Regions from separate parts of the Homo sapiens genome. Here all the other regions are linked to region 2. The links are contacts of gene promoters, found by promoter capture Hi-C in human tissues and cell types (Jung and others, 2019). All regions are on one chromosome and are shown on one strand. Each heading gives the region's core, a stretch centred on a gene start or on the middle of the fragment in contact. The rest is flanking DNA. Distances are from core to core; before and after follow the strand shown.

Region 1 (2,786 bases), core at 287-2,786, 730 kb after region 2:
GAGTTCAAGACCAGCCTGGCCAACATGGCGAAACCCCATCTCTACTAAAAATACAAAAAATTAGCCGGACGTGGTAGCGGGCACCTGTAATCCCAGCTGCTTGGAGACTGAGGCAGGAGAATTGCTGTAACCCAGGAGGCGGAGGTTGCAGTGAGCTGAGATCTCGCCACTTCACTGCATACTCCAGCCTGGGCAACAGAGCGAGACTCCAACTCAAAAAAACAGACAAACACACAGAAAACCAAAAATCTAATAAAAAAAAATCTAAGCCTATAGCCTGCTGTTTCTGAAAGCTATGTTCCTCTTGTCCCCACGCTGCTTTCTCGCATTGAGGGCCAAGCTCCTCGGCTGCGTGCCTTGAAAGTCATACACCTGTTGGATTTCATTCTGTTGCAAGCCTTATTTAATAACAAGGACATGGGCCTGAATCATATCTCCCGGAAAGTGGTATTGAGAATTAAGTGGTAATCGTAAAACTTGTTAAGCCTTTTGGTTAAAGGTGATGAAAGAATTGTTTATTTTCCCCAACTGCCTGTTTAATGGCAGTGTTTTGTAGTATTATGTGTTTCTTTTTTTTTTAACCAGCAGATAGTTTCTATAACTCAAATTATTACATTCCAGAGACCTGAAAAGGTCCCTAGATCGCAGAATAGAAAGAGTAAGGAGGCAGTGCTGTTGTGTATCCAACCTGTTAGGAAGATTTATCTGTTAGCAGAAGTTTATGTCTCCCTCTGATAGTCACTGAGTTTGCAGCCAGAAGAACATTTAGGAAATTTAATTGTTTTCTTTTGAATAATTGCTAAGATGTATTGCCAAGGCCATAAATACACTTTATCATGAGTCAGAATTTCACTTTGTACTTCAGTCTTTGAGCTTTAATAATTTCATGCCTTCAAAATGCAGTCTTGCTATTGTGGGAACCCATTGCTCCAGCCTTCTTCAATCGTTCATCTAGGCCTGGCGCAGTGGCTCATGCCTGTAATCCCAGCACTTTGGGAGACCGAGGCGGGTGGATCACCTGAGGTCAGGAGTTCGAGACCAGCCTGGCCAACATGGTGAAACCCCGGCTCTACTAAAAATGCAAAATTAGGCGAGCATGGTGGTGGGTGCCTGTAGTCCTAGCTACTTGGGAGGCTGAGGCAGGAAAATTGCTTGAGCCCAGGAGGTGGAGGTTGCAGTGAGTCAAGATCGCACCACTGCACTCCAGCCTGGGCGACAGAGCAAGACTCTGTCTCAGAAATAAACAAATAAATAGAAAACAGTTCATCTAGCAAAAAAGAAATTCACCCCAGTTTAATTGCAGGGAGGGGAGGGATGATTCAAGTTAGAAATGGGATGAGGCATTAATTATTCATTTTCCTTTGCTGGCAAAAAAAAATGGAGGATTTTAAATTTTTTTGTTCTCCTTTTACAGCCAGAAAAATCCTATTTGCTAATTCTAAACTTAATATTTTTTGAAAGGGTATCCTAGTGAGATATTGTTCATTGATATCAAATTTTAGTGAGCCACAGTTTCAAAGAGTTTTAATAAAAGACTATCAAAAGACTGGGTGTGGTGGCTCATGCCTGTAATCCCAGCACTTTGGGAGGCCGAGGCAGATGGATCACCTGAGGTCAGGAATTTGAGACCAGCCTGGCCAACATGGTGAAACCCCATCTCTACTAAAAATACAAAAAATTAGCCGGGCGTGGTGGCGGGTGCCTGTAATCCAAGCTACTGAGGAGGCTGAGGCCGGAGAATCACTTGAACCCAGGAGGCAGAGGTTGCAGTGAGCCAAGATCACGCCATTGCACTCCAGCCTGGGCAACAAGAGCAAAAGTTCATCTTAAAAAAAAAAAAAAAGACTATCATAAAACAATTACATTTTGTTTAAAAAAAAAGGAGTTTTTTTTGCATAAGCTTTATTACATAGGCAAAATTGGGTGACTTGAGGAGAAGCTGTTATATTGGCAAACCTTCTTCCCTCTCCAGATAGACGGTGATCTGGCATTTTCATATCATAGCTGTATGAGTGCAGCCTTGAGGGGACATGCCAGTCTAGTCGATGTGAAATCAATGGGATATTCCCGTTGGTTCATCTCTTCATACCATGCAGCCACAGATCCGTGATAATCCACACATACTATTGGCTGTCTAATTACAGAGCAAATAATATCCTCTTACTTGAAGGAATTTTTACTTGTGTTCAGAAAAATAACACATCTTTCAAAGTCATTCTGGTTTTGAGAAATACATTTTATAATAGAATGAGTCTCTGTCTTTCCTGGCAAGGCAGGTAGGGGGCACTAGTCTATTTTACTGAGGAAGCTGGGGCAAGAGCCAATAAGGGCTGCCCCTGTAATTATACATTCTCTGGGAATTAATCATTTTGCTCAATTCTAGGAAAAGTCTCTCAGTTCTTACCCAAGTGCTATTCTTATTTTAGGGAATAGCTAACTTACTTAGTTTTCTAATATAACCACAACAGATCAGAAGCAGTAAATTTTAAAAGGCTAACACTAAAAGCAGAAAGAAACAATGACTGAACAGTAAGTGAAAGGTGAAGCACTAAGAGGCAGACATTCTGGGATTCTTCTTAAAAAGCAGCATTCTGGGGCATTCGATGTAAGGAGGGGCGAACAGTCTTCACCCGTGACTGTTCCTTGTGCACTAGTGCCTTGTATTATGCTTCCGAGCAAGAAAAAGAAATTCTTTTCCCCATGCTCTGAATAGGAAGTCAAGGAAACATGCAGTTTATTTTAGCTTGCCAACAAAAACTACACACACACACACACACACACAGCTT
Region 2 (2,764 bases), core at 205-2,704:
GGTTGGGATTTCTCAGGGAGAAAGGAGGCGAGGTCCTGACCTGTGGTGGAGGGGCTGGGGCATTGAGAGTTTGAGAAGAGATGGGAGGGTGTTGAGCACTGATATGGTTTGGCTGTGTCCCCACCCAAATCTCATCTTGAGTTGTAGCTCCCATAATTCTCTCGTGTTGTGTGAGGGACTTGGTGGGAGATAATTGAATCATGGGGATGGAGAACAAAGCCAAGCCAATATCTTGACTTTAGCTCAGCGAGACTGAGTTTGAACTCCTGATCTCCAGAACTGTAAGATAATAACTTGCATCGTTTTAAGCCACTCACTTTGTGATAATTAATTATAGCAGCCTTAGGAAACCAGCACGGGGGTGAGGCTGCACCCTGCCCAGGAAGCCAGAGACGACCAGCTACGCAGGGACTTTAGCTCGAACCTGATTAGGTCAGTGGACACCGCCCCCATCCCCAGGACGGGGAGGTGGCTGGGGCCACTGCAGCCACAGCATGTGTCTGCTCACATGGGGCTTATTTTTAAAGGGATTGTCCTCACCTGCTGCTGTCTGTGTTTATAAAGTTGGCTAGAGAGGAGAAATCTTCCTTTGCCAGTTTTCAGCTTTAGCTCTGATATTTGCCTGGAACATAGTAGGTGCTCAATAAACAATATCTCTGGATATTGTTAGTAATATGTGACCCTATTTGAAGAACTCAGAAGGGGCACTGGGCAAGTCTACAAGAGATGGCAATTCTGTAATTCCTGTGTGGTATTTTCTGAATTCTGCACATTTTAACCTAGGCTATGAGACAGTGTGACTTTCTTCAACAAATTAGTTAATTCTTCAAATTAACTCCAATTTCAACAGCATGGTGATGTTAAAGGCATTGGAAATTCAGCCACAGATGTTAAAGACCATCAGCACGGTCACATAGTAAGATGCTACTTTCAAGCCACGAATAACCCAACCAGTTATTGGTCTTATGAAATCTTGTAAGCCATCCCAGAGAGACTAATTTAATTTTTATGATTCAGAATTTGCAGGCTGTAACTGGTCAGTCCATGCGAACTCTGGTGGCTGCATTCAGCCCTGACATGTTTCACCTGACTTTGATATAAGGAGCTACTGGAACCTTCCTACGAGTTCTAAAACCTTTCCCTCCTCCTCCTGTTCTGGAAAAGCAATTAAGACCCAAACTAGGCATGAAATAAAAGTCTCTTAAATTGATTTAGAATTATTTTTAAAAAGTACCCTCACAGAAGTGGAAAATTTTGCCAATAGGTAGGTGTAAAAGGAAGTTTTTTGTTTTTCTAAGAGACACAGATTTCCTCTCATATTGTACTCTCATAAAAGAAAAAAAAAAGGTGGTCATTTACTTACTCAGGCAGAAAATGAAGGCGTTCACAACTGTAGTTGGGTTTTCTGATAGTGAGAGCTGCTTTTGGAGGAGTTTTCTCTTCTGGGAAGTGCTGTGGAGATGTGGTTGCTTTAAATTATATAACCTCCGCTCCAGTGATGTCATTGTGGGGATTGCCGCAAAAGTGAGTCTTTCGGGACTCACTCCAAGTGGATTTGGAAGGAAAAATCCACTCTCATTTCACTTTGCACTTTAGGGATGATAAGAGATTATTCAGCTACCATCTCCCCCTTTACTTTGGTACCATCTGCAGAGGTCTGCAATCCTGCCCAAGACCTGTATGTTGGCAAACACGCCCTAAAAACATGTTTTGACATCGCCAACTTGCCCCAAGGCTCGCAAAGTGTCAGTGAACATTGAGGGATGGCTTTTGGCCCCTTCACTATTGGCTTCTGAATGTCTGGGGCTCTGCAGCAGCTTTTGTGGGAGCCACTTCGAATGGCCTCTTTTGAATTTTGGTCATGAAAGATACATCGCCAAGAATCCATCAGAGTGGACCCATCACACAAACAGAGAGCTAGGAAAACGTTTGACTCATGCAATGTTCAGAGTTGAGTAAGACCAGATACATTTTTTCCTAATCCTCCTTGGCGTCTCTCAAATTATGTCTGCATGGGTCAAGTTGAACTACTCAAGACCTCATGTTTCAGACAGTAAGATATTTTTGGCTTTGAGAATCAGGTGACAAGATTCTCCAACTGAAGGCCCCTTACCTGTCAACTTACAAATTAAGATCTTTCCAGGCCACCCCCTACACGTAGGAGAACTCATTCATGCCAGAATTCAGGACTTCGAGTCTGACTTCTGGAAAGGTGACCCTCCAAATGTTTGGAGCAGAAGGTGTCACCTCTGTCTTTAGAATCTTGCCTTTTGCTTGTGTTCCCTTTTTCTGCTAGTGACATCTCAGCGGGAGCCAACTGCACTTCAAGTTTTCCTGCTGTCTTCTCCTGTTGCTGAAGACCTTAAAACTGTGGAAGTAGGTGGAACAAATAGCATTCTGAGGCTCAGTAGCGGATGTACATTTCAGGGAAGAAGCTGGAATTTGCCTTAGAGGATAGGATGGTCCCCTCCTATCAGGAGAGACCTCCTGGGTGGGATTTTTAATAAAAAAAAATTGTCAACAGGCAAGCATCTTCCATTACTCCCGGGATAGATCTGAACCGGAGGAAGGCTCCAAATCTTAGCCTTTCCTGTTACTTAGTAATGTAGGCGGGGGTCTCTCCAGCCCGTGGCTGGCTTATTCTCCCTTCAGTATGAGTTTAGACTATACTGTTTCTGAGAAGCGTTTGTTCTTAGGAGATGTCTCCCTGTTTATTCACCCAGGAGTGCGTATAAGGCCAGCTCTGCCACAAAGAGCACGTGCA
Region 3 (2,814 bases), core at 296-2,795, 690 kb after region 2:
TTTCTCAGGTGACTGGTTTTCTAGTTGGTTCCTGCCAGCTTTGTCTTTAGATTTTAATCACTTAACAAACACCACCAAGCATTTTTTTTCTTAGACAGAGTCTTGCTCTGTCGCCCAGGCTGGAGTGCAGTGGTGTGATCTCAGCTCATGCAACCTCCACCTCCCGGGTTCAAGCAATTCTCCTACCCCAGCCTCCCTAGCAGCTGGGATTACAGGCATGTGCCACCACACCCAGCTAATTTTTGTATTTTAGTAGAGATGGGGTTTTGCCATGTTGGCCAGCCAGGCTGGTCTCAAACTCTCGACCTTGGGTGATCTGCCCGCCTCGGCCTCACAAAGTACTGGGATTACAGGTGTGAGCCACCCTGCCCGGCCCCACCAAGGCTTTTATAGGCCTGGCACTATGCTGGGTGGGGGACACGGCCAAACAGACTGGCCACTGCCCTTGGAAGCTGCCCAGCTCCTGGTGGATGGCGGTAGGCCATGCAGAGTCAGAGCTGGACTCCCAATTCGCTGGTTTCTAATCCAGTGCCCTTCTAGGGCCCATGAATGTATGTTAAGATGCGTTGGGGAACGCTCACCAAGGCACCAGGTCAGAAGTGAGAAAAACAAGGTCTTCTTTGCTGTGATCCTTATTTCTTGGACTCTCACAGCCTTGAGACAATATGAGCCAGAGTAGTGTTGGACCTGGAGCGCCCCCTCCAGTTTTGTTGCTGAAAATGCAGCCCCCATTCCATGTCCACAAGAGACAGTGTCTCCCATTCTGCTCTGGGGTCAAGGCTGATTTGGCTGCTATTAATGTCCCTGGTGTGAAACAGGTTCCTCTTACAACATGCCCAGAGTCAAAAGAGAGTGCCCTCCTTTATCCCACCCCAGGGGGTTCCAGCTCTTGCAGGGCCCTGCCTTCCTCCTTCCCCTTTCCTCTTGTGTCCAAGTCCTTTCCACTCATCCCATGTGTCCTTCCAGTTTCACCTGAAGCATAACTTCCTCCTGGAAGCTTTACTTGACCACCCCACGCCCAGGTCTCCTTTCATGGAAACAGCCTCCCTGTCCTTCAGTGCCCTTCTATCATCAATGGGATGGTCTGATTAAGGCCTGGCTCCCACTGGCTACCTGTGCACAGCAGCCATGCCCGGTTTAGCTCTCTATTGTGTGCCTGATGTCTTGCACAGTACCTGGCATCAAGTATATATTGTATATAAAAGTGCTTTGATGAATGAATGAATGGAGGGATGGATGGATGAATGAAGACACCTAGACCCATACTAGATAGGCAGGGTTGTTGAGCAAAGGTGCCAGGGAATCCCTCTTCCATATTTCCTGATACAGCAACACCAATTAAAGGCCCCGGGTTAAACAGCAGCAGTTCCTGGCCATTTAACAAACACTCCAGCACTGTGTTAGGAGCTACCATTGAGAAGGGCTTGGGGATAGAGTGGGGGCCAATGTGTTTTCTAGAAAACTTCTTACAAACAATTGATATCAATTTCTCAACAATTGTTCCCACTTAATGATGATGATGATGATGATATAAGATAATATTTATTCAGAGCTTCCAATGCACCAGGTTCTGTTCTGGACATGTTACATGCATTTTTTTTTTCTTTAAAACTCACAAATACTCCCTTAGGTATTACTCTTTTTTTTTTTTTTTTTTTTTTTTTTTTTTTTTTTTTGAGATGGAATCTTGCTCTGTTGCCCAGGCTGGAGTACAGTGGCATGATCTCGGCTCACTGCAACCTCCCCCTCCCGGGTTCAAACGATTCTCCTGCCTCAGCCTCCTAAGTAGCTGGGATTACAGATGCACACCACCACACCTGGCTAATTTTTTTTTTTTTTTTGAGACGGAGTCTCACTCTGTTGCCCAGGCTGGAGTCCAGTGGTGCGATCTTGGCTCACTGCAAGCTCCGCCTCCTGGGTTCTGCCATTCTTCTGCTTCAGCCTCCCAAGTAGCTGGGACTACAGGTGCCCGCCACCACGTCCGGCTGATTTTTTTTGTATTTTTAGTAGAGATAAGGTTTCATCATGTTAGCCAGGACGGTCTCGATCTCCTGACCTCGTGATCCGCTCACCTCGGCCTCCCAAAGTGCTGGGATTACAGGCGTGAGCCACCACACCTGGCCACACCTGGCTAATTTTTAAAAATCTTTAGTTGAGATGGGTTTTCACCATGTTGGCCAGGCTGGTCTCGAACTCCTGACCTCAAGTGATCCACCCACCTCAGCCTCCCAAAGTGCTGGGATTACAGGTGTGAACCACTGTGCTTGGCCTACTCTTTTATTTTATTTATTTATTATTATTAGAGACAAGGTCATATTATGTGGCCCAGGGTGGTCTTGAACTCCTGAGCTCAAGCAATCCACCCTCCTCAGCCTCCCAAAGTGTCAGGATTACAGATGTGAGGCATTGTGCCCAACCAGATGTTACTCTTCTCCCCTCTGACAGGTGAAAAGGCCTGTGGAGTAGAAGGGAGGGGCAGGTTTGCCCAGGGTCTCACAGTAAGAGACAAGCACCATACCAGGTACTGCCTGATCCCAAACCCACAGCGAGGGGAACCCGCGATGCTCGATCACCATGGCGGCACAGCAGTGAGCTTGGACCCTGGGGCTCAGACCGCACCCCCACATGCAGTTTTTTGTGACGCCAATAACACCATCATCACTCTGACCCCACAAACACAGCACAACCCAACAGAAGCTGGTTAGCAAGACTGTTCTCAGCAAGCCACTCCCAGCAGGGACACAGCCGCAGCTGGCTACTTTTCTCCCCAAAGGCCCTGTTCTGGGACATTGACTCATTGACTTTGCAAACTGC

Evidence for each region. Contacts are between HindIII fragments. The study calls those that stand out against the background at their distance.
Region 1: a fragment that was not itself captured here is called in contact with the fragment with the promoter of BDKRB1 in region 2 in 1 of the 25 tissues and cell types used here (IMR-90 fibroblasts).
Region 3: a contact is called between a fragment that was not itself captured here and the fragment with the promoter of BDKRB1 in region 2, in 2 of the 25 tissues and cell types used here (IMR-90 fibroblasts and heart left ventricle).

Annotation. Positions count from the first base shown.
Region 1 is chr14:95,527,077-95,529,862 of GRCh38, reverse strand. No RefSeq gene overlaps it. Among named protein-coding and RNA genes, the nearest start is that of SNHG10, 6.4 kb to the left of the region's middle. The HindIII fragment of the contact is 7,739 bases long and covers 1-2,786 here.
Region 2 is chr14:96,254,900-96,257,663 of GRCh38, reverse strand. It overlaps BDKRB1 (bradykinin receptor B1), which reads right to left and starts at 1,454. Exons shown (of 3, transcript NM_000710.4): 1 at 1,364-1,454. The HindIII fragment of the contact is 16,224 bases long and covers 1-2,764 here.
Region 3 is chr14:95,564,228-95,567,041 of GRCh38, reverse strand. No RefSeq gene overlaps it. Among named protein-coding and RNA genes, the nearest start is that of LINC02318, 7.9 kb to the left of the region's middle. The HindIII fragment of the contact is 4,366 bases long and covers 1-2,814 here.